3 separate regions of the Homo sapiens genome follow, and all the other regions are linked to region 1. The links are contacts of gene promoters, found by promoter capture Hi-C in human tissues and cell types (Jung and others, 2019). All regions are on one chromosome and are shown on one strand. The core of a region is centred on a gene start or on the middle of the fragment in contact, and the rest is flanking DNA. Distances in the headings are between cores, read along the strand shown. Region 1 holds the start of CRYBB2 (crystallin beta B2). Region 2 holds the start of SEZ6L (seizure related 6 homolog like). Region 3 overlaps MYO18B (myosin XVIIIB).

The links. The method cuts DNA at HindIII sites, captures the fragments that hold promoters and counts their contacts. A contact is called where the count stands out against the background at its distance.
Region 2: the fragment with the promoter of SEZ6L here is called in contact with the fragment with the promoter of CRYBB2 in region 1 in 2 of the 25 tissues and cell types used here (neural progenitor cells and spleen).
Region 3: a fragment that was not itself captured here is called in contact with the fragment with the promoter of CRYBB2 in region 1 in 3 of the 25 tissues and cell types used here (H1 embryonic stem cells, dorsolateral prefrontal cortex and spleen).

The regions. Positions count from the first base shown.
Region 1 is chr22:25,216,514-25,221,631 of GRCh38, reverse strand. It overlaps CRYBB2 (crystallin beta B2), which reads right to left and starts at 1,993. Exons shown (of 6, transcript NM_000496.3): 1 at 1,966-1,993; 2 at 149-228. The coding sequence starts at 202. The HindIII fragment of the contact is 11,576 bases long and covers 1-5,118 here.
Region 2 is chr22:26,166,771-26,171,888 of GRCh38, reverse strand. SEZ6L (seizure related 6 homolog like) reads right to left here and starts at 2,427. Exons shown (of 17, transcript NM_021115.5): 1 at 2,126-2,427. The coding sequence starts at 2,219. It overlaps LOC105372971 (a long non-coding RNA gene), which reads left to right and starts at 2,655. Exons shown (of 6, transcript NR_188586.1): 1 at 2,655-2,886; 2 at 4,960-5,108. RefSeq lists an enhancer at 509-1,448 and a silencer at 2,275-2,404. The HindIII fragment of the contact is 7,592 bases long and covers 1-4,179 here.
Region 3 is chr22:25,826,217-25,831,334 of GRCh38, reverse strand. MYO18B (myosin XVIIIB) reads right to left here. Exons shown (of 44, transcript NM_032608.7): 14 at 4,836-4,926; 15 at 2,367-2,559. Among named protein-coding and RNA genes, the nearest start is that of MYO18B-AS1, 71 kb to the left of the region's middle. The HindIII fragment of the contact is 4,920 bases long and covers 1-4,822 here.

The sequences.
Region 1 (5,118 bases), core at 744-3,243:
ACTGTGTGGGTAGAGGAGACTGAGTCCCAGAGAGGGGCAGGGGTCGAGAGGGGGTACCCATGAAGAAAGATGCCAAGCCCATTTTACAGAAGGGCAACTAAGTCTGGGGGAGGAGCATTGCATGCCCCCTCCTCTGAGAGGTACCCACCTTGGGGTTGAGGGACTGTGGCTTGCCCGCCTGGGTCTGGTGATCTGAGGCCATGGTGGACTGTCCTGTGCAGGAATGACCTGGAAGACATGGGAAGCAGCAGTGAGGACCTGGAGGGGCCACTGGCTTTTTCACTCTGTGGGGCCTTGAGACCACTCCCCTCTGGCCCCAAACATTCTCTTTTTCTCCTGGTTTCAGACTGTCCCAGAGCTGTGGGGTCCGTAAGCAGCTACTTCAACTTCTGTCCTTAGCTTCATTTATTTCTATCCAGGCCAGCTGCAGGAGGAGGGAAAAACGAGGTCTACTCAAAGAAAGAGAGCAGTAATAAACTAGAGCTTAAATGAGGTCCAAAGTGGGTTCCCAACACTCAACCCCAGACAATGGATACCACACAGAATATAGAATGGTCAATCCCAGAACTTCTGCCTTTATGCAGTAATTTCTTAAATAAAATTGTGTGGAACAAACAAAACCTATGCATTGGCTGTATTTGGTGGTGTGGTGGTGCCCAGTTTAGGAACTCACAAAGTTCCCTGTTCCCCTGCTCCTTCTCCCACCCTCTCCCTGGGACTCCTCTCCCCATCCTGGTACCTAGATTTCTCTTCTCTGCCACTGGTTTTACTCCCCCATTAGTGAAATCATCTGATACAGAACCCACATTACAAGAAAGAGAAGAAATGGGTGCGACGGTAGAAATCCAGGCACTGTGGCAGGCAGCAGGGTAGACCTGCCTTAGCTAGTGAGAACATCAGAAAAGCCTGGAAAATTGTCAGCCTCTTCCCCCTTCCTGCAGAAGGGGTGGTCAAACCAGGCTGTGTTTCCCCAGGGGTAAGAGAGGAAGCCTGGCCTCCCTCTTCAGAGATAACGCCAGCTTCCAGAAGCCCCTTCCACATGAAAGGCCAATACTGGATGTTTCCCAGGAGGAAGAAATGCAGTTAAGCACCTTGGCAGCCAAATCTACTGCTCTCCCGCAAGAAACCAGCCCTCTGGGCTTGTCAGAGTGCCTGAGGTCCTGCCATATCACTTCCCAGTCCTGAGTGTTCACAGACTGAAGAAGCTCAGTTGGTCCAGTTCAGGAGCAGTCTCTGCTGCCTGCCAGAATTGAGACTCTGGGCAGGTCTCATCCTCTCCCTATGCCTCAACTTCCTGTTCTATAAAATGGGGACAGTAATGATGTCTAATAATACCTGTGAACAGGTTGTGAGGATTCAATTATGTAATGTATAAAACCGGAAGCACTTGGCCGTGGTCCCAGAACACACTCAGCATGCAGCAAATGGCAGCAATTGTGGCATTATTAGAGTCATTTCTACCATGCTTTAGTGGCATTGAAATCACCTGTTGCTGGGACCTGTCACATACCTGTGGCTGCATCCTATCCCCTAGCACTCCCAGAGGCTAGGCACAGAGTGGGTGCCCCCTAATTGCAGATGTGGAGGAAAACTGACTCACCCACCTAGAAACAATGCTGAACTGTCACTGGTTTGATTCTTGCAAAACCCTCAGTTACATTCTCCTCCTCAGCGACTGGCGAAACAAGGATGCTGATAGTCTGTTTAATATTAATAATAAAGAACATTGCCCCAATGCCCACTGTGTGCCAGGCACTGTGCTGGATGATCCCCTAACTTCTCTTGAATCCTTACAATAAAGAAGGCTTTTTAACCCCCTTCCCAGTTACCAGAAAAGAAAACTGAGGCTAACAGCATTGAAGTCTCTGCCCAAAGTCACTTGTCAGAATCTGGGTGCTCCCATGCTTGCGGACAGGGGTGAGGATGAGAGAAAGAAGGGAAGACAAGCAAGAGAGGCAATCTTACCAGTGACACCAGCCCCTGCGAGTGCCGTGAAGCTCGGCCAGCGGGAGGTGGCATTTATACCTTCCCCAGAAGTGCCGGTGCCAAGATGAGTGACCGCTGTGCTCCTGCGAAAAGCAGGGTGAGAATGCTGGATTAAGCTCTCACCAAAGCTCGGGTCAGCAAATGCCCACAGACATTGTGTCTCTGCACAATAATGTCATTAGCTTTCAGATTCGGCCGCGCCAGGGCGGTCAGGCGGCTGGGCAAGGAGATGCCCGCTTTGCATGCATCAGCCGTCCGGCTGCCAGGGCCAGGGGTACGCTGGGTTCACTGGTACGGTCAGTCAGGCCGTGAGGCATGGCAGACAGAGGAACATCTCAGTGGGCCTGGGGAAGAACAAGTAAAGAAGGGTGGTTTGGCAGAGTCTGGGCTTCATTCATCTACCCATTTATTCATTCAACAAATATTTGTTGGGCATCCACTTGGTGACAATCTCTGTTCCAGGGGAGTGTCAGGAAGAGGACCTACGCCAGCCCAGGCCATTCAGAAAAGCTCCTGGGAGGTAGCGCATCCCTCAGGGATGGAGAAGAGGAAGCCTGGGAACAGGGTGGGGGGACAGTTCCAAGCAGAAAGGGTCCATATACAAGGAACCAGCATGGTGTATTTCAAGAAGACCTGAAAACAGGTTAACAAAGCTAAAGCATGACATGTGACAAATAGGGCCTGTGCCAGGTGGCCAAGGTGGGCAGGGCCTGATGTTGCAGGGCCAGGGAGGCCAATTATGGAGAGTGCATTTTATTCTCAAGGCCCCTGGCTGTTTCTCTTTCTTTTCTTTCTTTCTTTCTTTCTCTTTCTTTCTTTCTTTCTTTCTTTCTTTCTTTCTTTCTTTCTTTCTTTCTTTCTTTCTTCTCTCTCTCTCTCTCTCTCTCTCTCTCTCTCTCTCTCTCTCTCCCCTCTCTCTCTCTCTCTCTCTCTCTCTCCCCCTCTCTCTCTCTCTTTCTTTCTTTCTCTTTCTTTCTTTTGAGATGGAATCTCACTCTGTCACCCAGGCTGGAGTGCAGTGGTGTGATCTCGGCTCACTGCAACCTCTGCCTCCCAGGTTCAAGCGATTCTCCTGCCTCAGCCTCACCAGTAGCTGGGACTACAGGTGTGCGCCACCAGGTCCAGCTAAATTCTTTTTTTTGCTGTATCTTGTTAGAGACAGGGTTTTGACATGTTGCCCAGGGTGGTCTCAAACTCCTGAGCTCAGGCAATCCATCCACCTTGGCCTCCTAAAGTGCTGGGATTCCAGGCATGAGCCACTGCACCCGGCCTGTTTCTTAACCACTGTCCTAGAGTGAGTTGCTCTTAGATCCCTACCACTGGCCCCATCGCTGCCACATGGGTGCCCAGCCTTTACTCACATTTCTTTTCTATTTTTTTTTTTTTTGAGATGGAGTCTCGCTCTGTCGCCCAGGCTGGAGTGCAGTGGCACGATCTCAGCTCACTGCAAGCTCTGCCTCCCGTGTTCACACCATTCTCCTCCTTCAGCCTCCCTAGTAGCTGGGACTACAGGCGCCCGCCAACACGCCCGGCTAATTTTTTGTATTTTTAGTAGAGACGGTGTTTCACTGTGTTAGCCAGGATGGTCTCGATCTCCTGACCTCATTATCCGCCCGTCTCGGCCTCCCAAAGTGCTGGGATTACAGGCGTGAGCCACCGCGCCCGGCCTTTACTCATGTTTCTTTAGTGCACACACCTTCCTTGCAGCCCAGGCTGTGTCTTGATCCAATCTGAGGCTTGGAGACTGGGTCAAGTATACCTGCTTTCCCCTGTCTCTCATTTTCTTAATGCACATATGCATGCACACGCATGCACACACACTACACACACATGCCCCAGCCCCCTAGCTGGGCTTTTCCTTTTGCAGCACTCATCACTACCCAACATTCTGTTACTCATTTATTTTCTGTCTTTCCAATGAGAAGATAAGCACCACAAAAGCAAAGAAGTTGTCCCCCTGGTTTACCATGGTATCTCCAGAGCCCAGTGCCTGACGCATAGTAGGTACTTGTTTTAAAATCCCAGGGCTGGCCGGGCACAGCGGCTCACGCCTGTAATCCCAGCACTTTGGGAAGCCAAGCCAGGCGGATCACCTGAGGTTGGGAGCTCGAGACCTGCCTGAGCAACATGGAGAAACCCCGTCTCTACTAAAAATACAAAATTAGCCGGGCATGGTGGCACATGCCTGTAATCCCAGCTACTCGGGAGGCTGAGGCAGGAGAATCACTTGAACCCACGAGGCAGAGGATGCAGTGAGCCAAGATCATGGCATTGCACTCCAACCTAGGCAACAAGAGCAAAACTCTGTCTCAAAGAAAATAAATAAATAAATAACATAAAATAAATCCCAGGGCTGCTGTAATAAAGTGTCACAAACTAAGTGGCTTAAAAACAACAGAAATTGGGAATGTAAAATGGTGTTGCCACTACGGAAAACAGTGTGGCTGTCTCAAAAAAAAAAAAAAAATCCAACATAGAATTACCATATGAGCCAGCCATTCCACTTCTGTGCACGTGCCCCAAAGAATTGAAAGCAGGGAATTGAAGAGATATTTACACACCCATGTTCATAGCAGCATTATTCACAATAGCCGAAAGATGGAAACCACCCAAATGTCCATCAACGGATGAATGGATAAACACTATGTGGTCTATCCATACAATGGAATATTATTCAGCCTTAAAAAGAAAGGAAATTCTGACTCCAACATGATGAGGTTTGAAAATGTTATGCAAAGTGAAATAAACCAGACACAAAAGGACAAATATTGTATGATTCCACTTACATAAGTTACCTAGGGTAGGCAAATTCATGGAGACTGGAAGTAGAATAGAGGTTACTGGGGGCTGGGAGGAGCGGGGAATGGGGAGTTATTGTTTAATGGGTACAGAGTTTCTGTTTGGGATGATGGAAAAGCTGGGGATGGATAGTGGTGATGGTCCCATAACAATGCCACTGAACTGTACTCTTAAAAATGGTTAAAATGGTTAATTTTATGCTATGCAGTATTTTACCACAAAAATGTCCCCCAAAAAACCCCAGAAGTTTATTGTTGTGTAATTCTGGAGGCTGGAAGCCTGACATCAAGCTGTCAGCAGGGCCATGCCTGCTCCAGGGGTTCTAGGTGAGGG
Region 2 (5,118 bases), core at 1,178-3,677, 950 kb before region 1:
TTGGGCTCTACATTAAAAATAGAATTTATTGTGGAAGGTCAATTGTCTCCAAATGCACCATCAGACTCGGCAATGCTCATTGGCCAGTATCACTCCCTCCTTATGACTCAGAGTCAGAACCACACACTTATTAATGAGCTTTCTGAAGTAGCACATCAATTGACTTTAATTTGGTGGTGACCTGAAGTCAATTTAAAAAATATGCTGGCTAGCCATGGTGTTGAGCAGTTGGAAAAATAGTATGAAATGTCTTAAAAATTAAAACACACACATGTCTCCCCCTGCTCTTACAATGTGTTTGCAGCCCGTGAAGGAAACAGAATAGGAAATCCTTGTCTTAGATGACAATTCAATACGTGCCATTAAGACAATTTTTTTTTCCCTGCAAGGTGGTGTATTGGAGAGTGGAGTTCTCAGAGGTAGAACTGCTTTAGAAAATCCAGTAAGCTGCTGGGTAGATTCAGGTTCTTTTTATATGTGTGTTAGTCACAACACAGATTCAAAAGGGGGTGGGGGAGGGAGAGCTGGACTCAGTTCAAGGCCACCAAGCCATTGTTAGAAAGAGACAGCTAATTAAGAAAGGCCATGCTGTGGTGGAAACGATTTGTTTAAACCAAATCTCTTTCCCTATCTTTCCCAGAGAAACTGTCCAGACCTGGTGTAAATTGTGGACATTATTGCCCCATAAAAAAGGGGTGGGGGTTCTTCAATGATATGCTTTGTTAAACAAAAGGTGATGAACAATTTCCTTTGCTCTGCACTCTGGGCTCTACATTTAAAAAGACGGGGAGATGGGGGATAAAATGCCTGATTTATGCTGAGGGGGGCACTCCAGGCCACCGGGAAGGGTTGAAGGGAAAGGGACCCAGAGCCAGGGCCCATGGAGCTGAGAGCTGTCCAGGGCCTTTGGTGCTGAAAGCAGGTGCGCGCGCTGGGGGTCCAGAACTCCCCGGAGAAGAACACCGCCTGTCCCCCAACTCCGAGTCAAGACGGTGCAAATGACAGAGGCGGAGCCCCAGATAAGCATAGTGCCTGCGCTCCCTCTGTCTTCAGCCTGGGCAGACCCTGCAGCTGTCTGCTTTTTTACACGTGAGGAGCGCATTTCTGGGACCTTGCAAGAAGGCCGGGTCCTGTGGCCAACTAACCCTCCCATTGATTTTCGGGTCTCCTAGGTGCCTGAGAAAACCCCCGAAGCTCTGAGGGTTAGCTTTGGGTGAGTTAGGCGTTGCACCCCTCTCTCTATCTGGCCCTCTCCCCCACCCATAACTTTTCCTGGGGTACCTTACCGGGGTGGAGAGAGGGTATGGTTCCAGGTCTGAGAAAGAGGAGCTGTCATTCTCTGCTAAATTTGGGCCCCTCTTCCCCTTCAACAAACACGTGGTAGATGAAACTAACACCCCTCACCCCCCATTCCTAACAGTGATCAGAGATGCTAGGCAGTAGGGGAGAGAGTAGAGGGGAGCCCGTTCAGGTTCCCAACTGCTAACTAACATCTCTTCTCCCTCCCCTACCAAGTTCTCAGAGCCCTCAGCCCCCTCCACCGGCCTCTAGCGAAAGCCACACCCAAGTCCGGTATCCTGACGCTTGGCTGAGATCGATCCAGGAACACAGACCCTCGGGGTAGCCTGAACCAAAGGAGTCAAGGGTTTCTGTGGTGTCGGGGGGAGCGGCAAATGCACTGTTTGAGTCTAGTCCTCAGTTGCAGGGTGGGTCAGCTTCTCACCCCCCTTCCTGTCCTCTCCCGGAGAGGAAGATAATTATCTGGCACCTAGCCCCGGGTGCGGTTGCAGAGAAGCGCCGGGAATTTGGGGTTTGGAGGCGACCCCACTCCAAGGAGAACCTCTTTGGCTGCAAAGGAGAATCAGCCCCGCAGCCGGGGAAGACCGAAAGGGAGCCCGCAGCCGAAGCAGGGAAGCGCCCGAGTCCTTCAACACATCCCCGCCTCCACACTCCCATCAGCCCGGGCCAAGGGGACGTGCGGTTCCTAGCCCCGATTTTGGACAGCCACCACCGCTTCCCATCCCGGCGGGTGGTGCCTGAGTCGCCCTGGTCAGCCCCGACCCCTGGCTGCCCCGCTCTCCCGGCAACTTTGCCCCCTGCCCGCCCCGCCCCTCGGGGCGCTTACCTCGCTCCAGCGCTGCCGCCGGGCTCCCCAGGAGCAGAGCGAGGAACAGCGAGATCCCGCGGAGTCCCGCGGCGGGCGGCCGGGCCGCGGGCATCGTGGCTGCAGGGGGCGCGGAGCCGCTGGCTGTGGGGCGGGCGGACGGCGAGGGAGCTGGGGAAGGAGGGCGGCGGTGAGCGAGAAAGGGGAAGCGGGAGCGAGGGAGGAGGCCGCGGGCCGGGGCAGCTTCCGGAGCCCCCTGGGCGGACGCGCGCTCAGCCCCGCGGTCGCTCTGGCCGAGCTGCGCCGGGCGCGGGCGGGCGAGTGAGGAGGAGCCGGCGAGCGAGCGAACGAGCGTGGAGCGAGCGGGAGGAGGGAGGGGGCTGGGGCCGAGTCTGTGCCGAGCGAGTGCAGGGAGGGAGGGGGCGGGCGAGCGGGCAGTGAGCTGGAGGGGCCGCGGCGGCGCCGGGGGTGCCAGCCGCCTCCTCTGGCCGCCGGCCCGTCGGCCCTGCAAAGTTTAACGCCAATTCCCCTTGCGTCCTGGGAGCCGAGCGTTTTCTCTCCCTGCTGACGCTCCCAGCAGCTCTGCCTGGCCAGGCCAGGCTGGAGAGCACCCGGACCATTTTCCAGACGGTGAGATGGAGCCCTGGAAACCGAGCTTATGAGCAGCCCGGAGCTTTCCATTGCCTGCCCAGCCTTCCAGATACATCCCAGTTCCAGTTCTTTCCAGAGCCCTCTGGGATCCAGCCAGCCTGCTTCCCCGCCAGGGCCTCACTGCTTCCAAAGTGAGTCCCCATAACCTAGAAAGTCTGTAACTCTGTGGATCTGGTGACAGCTGTGAATCTACTAGAACACTACACATAGCCACAAAATCGTGCATCTAACACGAGGGGGTCTGGACCCCTCTGAAGCCCAATCACGAACTCTAAATTAAGATCCACCTCCACTTTTTAATCTGAGCCCTGTCTCCCATAACCCCACTGCCGGCAGGGCACTAGCGCTGCGAGGCTTCCTCTCAGGTCAGCCGCTTGCCTCTTCCTGTACCCGCTTCCCTATCTGAGCAGGACTACAAGGCCCACCTCTGCAGCATTCTTGCCCAGGCCTGATTCTCAAGCAAAGTCTTTTCTCCACAAATAGAGGTAGTGAGGGACAATCAATGAGGGAGATAAACAGATACTTGGGGACAGACATTGGCAGAGAGCTAGGTGGGGACAAGCTTATGCACAGTCCTGGAGACTGACTGTCTCTCCCTGCGTAGCCTTGGCAGACCGGTCAGGCTTTACAGGCCTCTCACCCAATTTAGAAGCTGTCCTCCTCCCCCTACCCTACCTTGCCATACTATCTACACACTGCAGCCTGAACAGGCAGAGGGAGCAGATGGAGAGAAGGTTGCAGGCAGCAACAGGGGGAGGAATATGTCTTTAGCAGCGTGGTGGAGCCGGGAGTCCCTAGAAAGAATGGGTGGGGGAGGTGAACACTGGATGGAGGAGGGAAGGAGAAGCACTCTGGCCCAGGGTTTCAGAAGACGCTCCACACCCAGAGCTTCCCCATTTACTCACTCAAACAATGCTCTTTTACAGGCCACTGACTATAGGCCCAGACCTGCCTCAGGCTTTGGGGGACAGAGAGCCCCCCCATAAAATCCTATCTTCAGCTGCAAGAGGTTTCCATTCCTGGCAGTAAACCCAACTGGCTTTTATAAAGAAGGTGGCTGAGGCAGGGATGCAGGAGTGCTGATTTCTCCTTTGGAGAAGATGAAGCACTCCATGCTTTACTGTATGAGGCTGCCAGCTCTCTGTGGAATGACCTTGCCTGTTTGTGGCTATACGCTCAGGCTCTGTATAGTATAATGCAGGCATGCAGCGGGTGCTCAGTGAGACTTGTTCAATGGAAACCTAAAGAAGCAAGGAAGATGGAGGAGGAGGGGAAAGGGAAGAAAGCGAGCGAGAGAAAAACGAAGAGGTAGTTTAGCTCCATACTTGGAGGCAAGGAAACTATTTTTAATTCCTAGGTTCAGGGGTACTTGTGCAGGTTTGTTATGTGTGCAAACTTGTGTCATGGGAGTTTGTTGTACAGATGATTTCACCAACCAGGTATTAAGCCTGGTACTCAATAGTAATTTTTTTCTGATCCTCTCCCTCCTCCTGCCTTCCACCCTCTGGTAGGCCTCTGTGTGTGTTGTTCCCCTCTATGTGTCTGTGTGCTCTCATCATTTAGCTCCCACCTATAAGTGAGAACTTGTGATATTTGGTTTTCTGTTCCTGCATTAGTGTGCTAAGGATAATGGTCTCCAGCTCCATTCATGTTTTTGCAAAGAACATGATCTCATTCTTTTTTATGACTGCATAGTATTCCATGGTGTATATGTACCGTATATATGCTCATTCATTGATGAGCATTTAGGTTGATTCCATGTCTTTGCTCTTGTGAATAGTGCTGCAATGAACATACATGGGCATGTGTCTTTATAATAGAACAATTTATATTCCTTTGGGTATATACCCAGTAATGTCAGACAACCTACAGAATGGGAGAAAAATTTTACAAACTATGCATCTGCAAAAGTCTAATATCCAGCATCTATAAGGAACTTAAACAAATTTACAGGAAAAAAACCAAACAACCCAACTGAGAAGGAAACTATTGTGTAAAGAATCCACTGTTTGCCAGGTGCTGTCCCACACCGAGCATGGTCTCTCATTTCAATTTCATAATCTTCCTGAAAACGAGGTGTGGTTATTGCCATCTGAAAGATAAGTATCTGATTTTTTATGGGGGGTCCCAACCCAGCCAAGGTCACTCAGTCAGGAAGCGGTGGGATTTGGCAGATTCAAGGGCAGCCCTGACTACAGAGCCAGAACCCATTTCACCTTCACAGCCTACTTCCCAGAAATTTGGTGGCTGCCTCTGTGCTATGATTTGGTTGCTACCTGCTGAAGCTTCAACCTCTCATCACTACCAGAAGGACCACATCACTAAAAGTCCATCAATGGGGTTACTCACTTTGGTAAGTACAT
Region 3 (5,118 bases), core at 1,113-3,612, 610 kb before region 1:
TGCAGTATTGTTTATAAAGCCTTGAACTTAGAAACTACCCTGATGTCTATAGGAGAGGGAATACAATCAGATCTAACCACTGCAAGCAGGTTTACTAAGATTTGTAAGTGGAGGGAGGTTATGTGAATAATGTAATACTGTGAGGAAAATGACAGACAACAAACTCATATATACAGGAAGATCCAAAATCCACGGACAACATAATAAAGGGAAAATGGTAACAACAACAAACAACAAACAAAAAAGAAACAGAATAGTAACAATGGTTGCCTCTGGATAGAAGCGCCAAAGGAGATTGTATCTTTAGTTTCTTTATACTCATATGAACTTTCCAGCGTTTTAATTAAAAATGTATTACATTGATAATCAGAAATAAGTGAAATATTATGGGAAAAATAAAATAGCTGTTACACTCTTTATTCTTGTTCATTAAATGTTCAAAACGGCCCCTTTGGGGAGTCTGGTAACAATGATCTAAAACAACCCTGGTTCTCTGCACTTCCCTGTATCTATACTCTCTGCAGAGTGACACTGCAGTGCCTCCATCAAGAAGTGGAGCCTGTTTTCCTACCCCTTGAATCCATGCTCAGCCTTAGACCTGTTGTGACTCACCGAACACAGTGGAAGTGATTCTGTGCAGGCCTCAAGTCCAGGCCTCAAGGTCCCCTGCACGCTTCTGTTTGCTCTCTTGGAACCCTGCCCAGCACTACAAGGACAGCCCAAGCTAGCCTGCTGGAGGATGGGACATTTGTGGAACAGGGACAAGGTTACCCCAGACAAGGCCTGCCTAGATCCGTTCATGGCCAGCTGATCCCACGCATGAGCGAGCCCTGCCAAGATCATCAGAGCCATCTACCCCAACCTACACCTGAATCTGAACACAAGCTCAAGAACCATCCTGGACCAAGAGAGCTGCCCAGGCCATCCAGACACTTGTGAGCAACAACCGAAGATTTTTTTCTAAGCCACTACACTTGGGGGTAGTTTATTACGCAGCATTATTATGGCAAATCATAACTGATACAAAAGTATTATTATCTCTGTTTTCCACGTAAAAAAAAAAATTGAGGGTCAGAGAGGGTGAGTGCCTTTCCTAAGGCCACACAGCCAATAAGCGACAGAGTTAGGATCAGACCTCAGGTTTCATCAGCATCATCTGTTTGAGATTCATTTATGTTGGTGCTTTATTTTTATTACCAACCAAAAAAATGACTGGAACTTCAATACCTATTATTCTATATTATTCAACTGGTGAACAATATGGCCATTTCTAATATTCTGCCAGTGGTACTTATTGGAATAAAAGTGGTCACACCTTCAGGGAAGAAGGTGGGAGTCATATGGGGAACTGAAAATACTCTCATTTTCACGTGGGTGATAGAGACACACGTATGTTCATTTGGGTAAATTCACTGAGCTATATGCTTCTGGTTTATGCACTTTTCTTTGTAAATTTTATTTATTTTATTTTATTTTATATTATTATTATTATTTTTTGAGATGGAGTCTCTCTTTGTCACCCAGGCTGGAGTGCAGTGGCGCAATCTCAGCTCACCACGACCTCCACCTCCCGGGTTCAAGCGATTCTCCTGCCTCAGCCTCTCGAGTAGCTGGGATTATGGGCGTGCGCCACTGAGTCTGGCTAATTTTTGTATTTTTAGTAGAGATGGGGTTTGCCACGTTGGTCAGGCTGGTCTTGAACTCCTGACCTCAGGTGATCCGCCCGCCTCGGGCTCCCAAAGTGCTGGGATTAAGGCATGAGCCACCGTGCCTGGCCTTATATTTCAACTTAACCTCTTTTTTTTTTTTTTTATGAAAAAAGAAGGGCTGGCAGGATCATGCCTGTACATGCTTCCTGGTTCACACACAGAGTTTCTCTCAGGTGCCTCCTAGAAGAGGAATTGCTGGGTTTTGTGATGCATGTACCTTCAACTTTGTGAGACTCACCGTGCTGTGCTGCAGAGGGGTGTGGAGCCCACTGCTGCCACCCACCCACAGGACTCAAAGGGCATTCCCCCCCTGGGCAGATGCAGACTGACTCTTGGAGGAGCCTTCTGCTTAAGTGAAGTGGGAGAGAATGAAGCAGTCATCCCAAAGAAAGGACAGCCGTGGAAGCAAGGACTGGGGAAGCCCGAGTTCCTTGGTGCTTCTGGGCTGCGGGGTTCAGAAGGTGGCAGGGGGAGGCTGGGCTGTGGAGGGAGCAACAGAGGTCTGGGGAGCCAGGCCTGGGGAAAGGGCTTTGTTCTCTGGTGAACCAAACAGGGTGAAGCTGCAGGCTCCTGGGGAATGGGAATCCCACCCCTTCCCATCTGACCTTACACCATCCACGGAGCTCTGGTGAAAGCCCTGCTCCAGCCCAGGCATACCTCTTGATATCGCTGTAGCGTGGAGACAAAGGTCCGCTGGTAGAACAGCAGCTGCAGGCGCTCATGGGCGTAGTTGTGGCACAGCTCCTCAAAGGTGGCCGCCCGGTCCTTGCCCTGGTGCCGGGGGTTCTGGAAGCCTGGAGAGTCCACCACCATGATGGAGGCCATGGAGAGATGGTGGGAGGAAAAGGATCTAGGGAGAGAAGAGAGAGGTGGAATGTCTGAGATGGCATGGAATCTAGGAGCACACTGATCCAAGCCTCCAGCAGAACTGGTTTCAAAACCAAGCTCACCTCTTACAGGCTGTGTGACCTCAGGCAAGCTACTTAACCTCTCTGAGCAGGGGTTTCCCCAACTGTTAAATGAGGATGGGGGTGAGTAGGCTTATCCCAGGGATAGCTATAAGGACTAAAGGAATTAAACTGCCTCCCACTGGCCCAAAGTAAAAAAAAAAAAAAATGACTAGCTTAAGGTCACCCAGAAGTTGGCTACCATATGAAGCCTAGGCCCTCCTTTTCTTTCTTCAGAGGCCTATTAAAATCAAAAAACTATTTTATTTAATACATCAGTTTACAAAATTCTTTCAAGCTATCACCTCCTTGTATTCTCCTGATGAATCTGTAGGGGTGGACACAACAGGGATTATTCACATCAAAATTTAGGACTTAAGAGATTTTGGAGCCAGTCACATGTGGGCTTCAATCCTTGCTCTGTGACAGAGGGGATGTGTGTCTTGGGAGAGTTGCCCAACCTCTCTGAGCCTCCACCGTCTTAGCCACCGTCTCAGTTAATGATGGTGACTAGCTCAGAGGGCTGTTGTGAGGGTTGGGTGTGATAAGCTTCCATGGCTGTGAAAGCAAAGTTTGCCATGTGGTTAGTGCTCAGTAAATGCCACCTGCTCTCATCACCACGAGTATGATCAGCTAGGAGCTTTGGAGGCCCTTAGTTGAACCTTGGTTCTTCTGTTGTTTGCCAAGGTTTTCCAACTATAAAATGGGGATAATAAGAGCAGCCACCACACAGACATGCATGAAGATGAAGTCGGTTTATTCTTGGCAAGACAGACACCTACTAGGTGCTTATAAATGCTGTAGTAGGTACTTTGATCATCCATGCGGCATTTCACAGATGTGGCCTCTGAGAACCCAAACCTTGAAGCAGCTGCCCTTCACTGGTGAAGGCAGTTTCCTCCGCCAGCAGTTCATTTCCCATTCCCAGTACTCCCTCTCTAAGCACGCATGATCCCCTTGGTTTCTAGATAATATGTCTGTGGGCTCAGATGGTAATTACTTCAGCAGCGTCAGAGGGAGTTGATTCTGTGTCCACGACAACTTGGAGAAACCCGGCTGCTCTGTTGCTACGCGCCAGCCTCATCCCTTTAACAGGATTTCAGAAGCCTAATTATGCTTTCTGCTTTCACAGAGGAGGAAGGCAAGCCTTTGCCTAGGCTCTGAATTAGCTCTGCTGAAAAAACTGCTAAAAGGGTTTCCAAGCATGGGCTCAGTGCATTGTGCGTAACGATGGAAAACAGAGGCTCCTGGTGCCTGCAGCCCCGCAGACACACATCAGAGGCACACCCCAGCCCACTCCAAATTTCTACCATGTTGCTCCCATCCCCAGCAAGACAATTTTGAAAAATAAATGGATGAGAGCAATGTATTGGGCTATTCAGGGGAACTGAAGGTATGACATGAGAAGGTGGCATTGTGTTTGCATCTCGGTTCTACCCCTTCAAGCTTTAGTCTCCTCCTCTGTACAATGGGCCCATGTGAGTATTCAATGATGCAAAGCAGGTTACACAATTAGTGCAATCCCTGGCCCTCAGTAGCCACTCAAAAGTACTTAGATTTTATTATTGGCATTTTTACAATCACTGTTAGGAAGAATTTGTTTCATTTTGTTTTGTTTTGAGAGAGTCTCGCTCTGTCACCCAGGCTAGAGTGTGGTGGCGCGATCTCGGCTCACTGAAACCTCTGCTTCCCAGGTTCAAGCAATTCTCCCTGCCTCAGCCTCCCGAGTAGCTGGGATTACAGGCGCCCACCACCACGCCCAGCTAATTTTTGTAATTTTTAGTAGAGACAGGTTTTCGTCATGTTGGCCAGGCTGGTCTTGAATTCCTGATCTCAGGTGATCCTCCTACTTCAGCCTCCCAAAGTACTGGGATTACAGGCATGAGCCACCACGCTTGGCCAGGAAGAGTTATTTAAATTCATTATTTCTTTTAATCCTCACAACAGTCCTTGGGAAGAGAGCTATTGTACAGACGAGGAAAGGGAGATCAGAGAAGTGAACTGATTTGCCGACCTCACAGCCAGTGGGTGGCCAAGGTAGAAGTTAAACCCAGCACTGTCCACCTTAGAAACCCTCTCGCCAGCTCAAAAACTGCCACTTTGTTCAACTGCCCGGTATGTGAATTCATCTGTGCACCTGCAAGAGGCCAACTGTGTGCCTAGGAAAAGGCCCCGTTACCTGTTGATGAGTGAGACCACAGCCGCAAAGAGTTCCTGGTACAGGCCCGAGGCCATCCCCTCCACACAGTCCACTCCTGTCATCTTGAGCCCTGGGAAAGAGGACAGAATCAGCATTCTTGGTTAGGGATCTTGCCTGGGGCCAAGGACATCACTGCAGAGCAGTAGGGACCACTCAATTTAGAAAATCCTTCTTTTCTTGCCACATCCCTCCACTGCTAAAATTATTTCCCCAGGTTCTTAGGACAAAGTCTAAGTGTCCTTTCAGGGCCTACAGCGTCCTA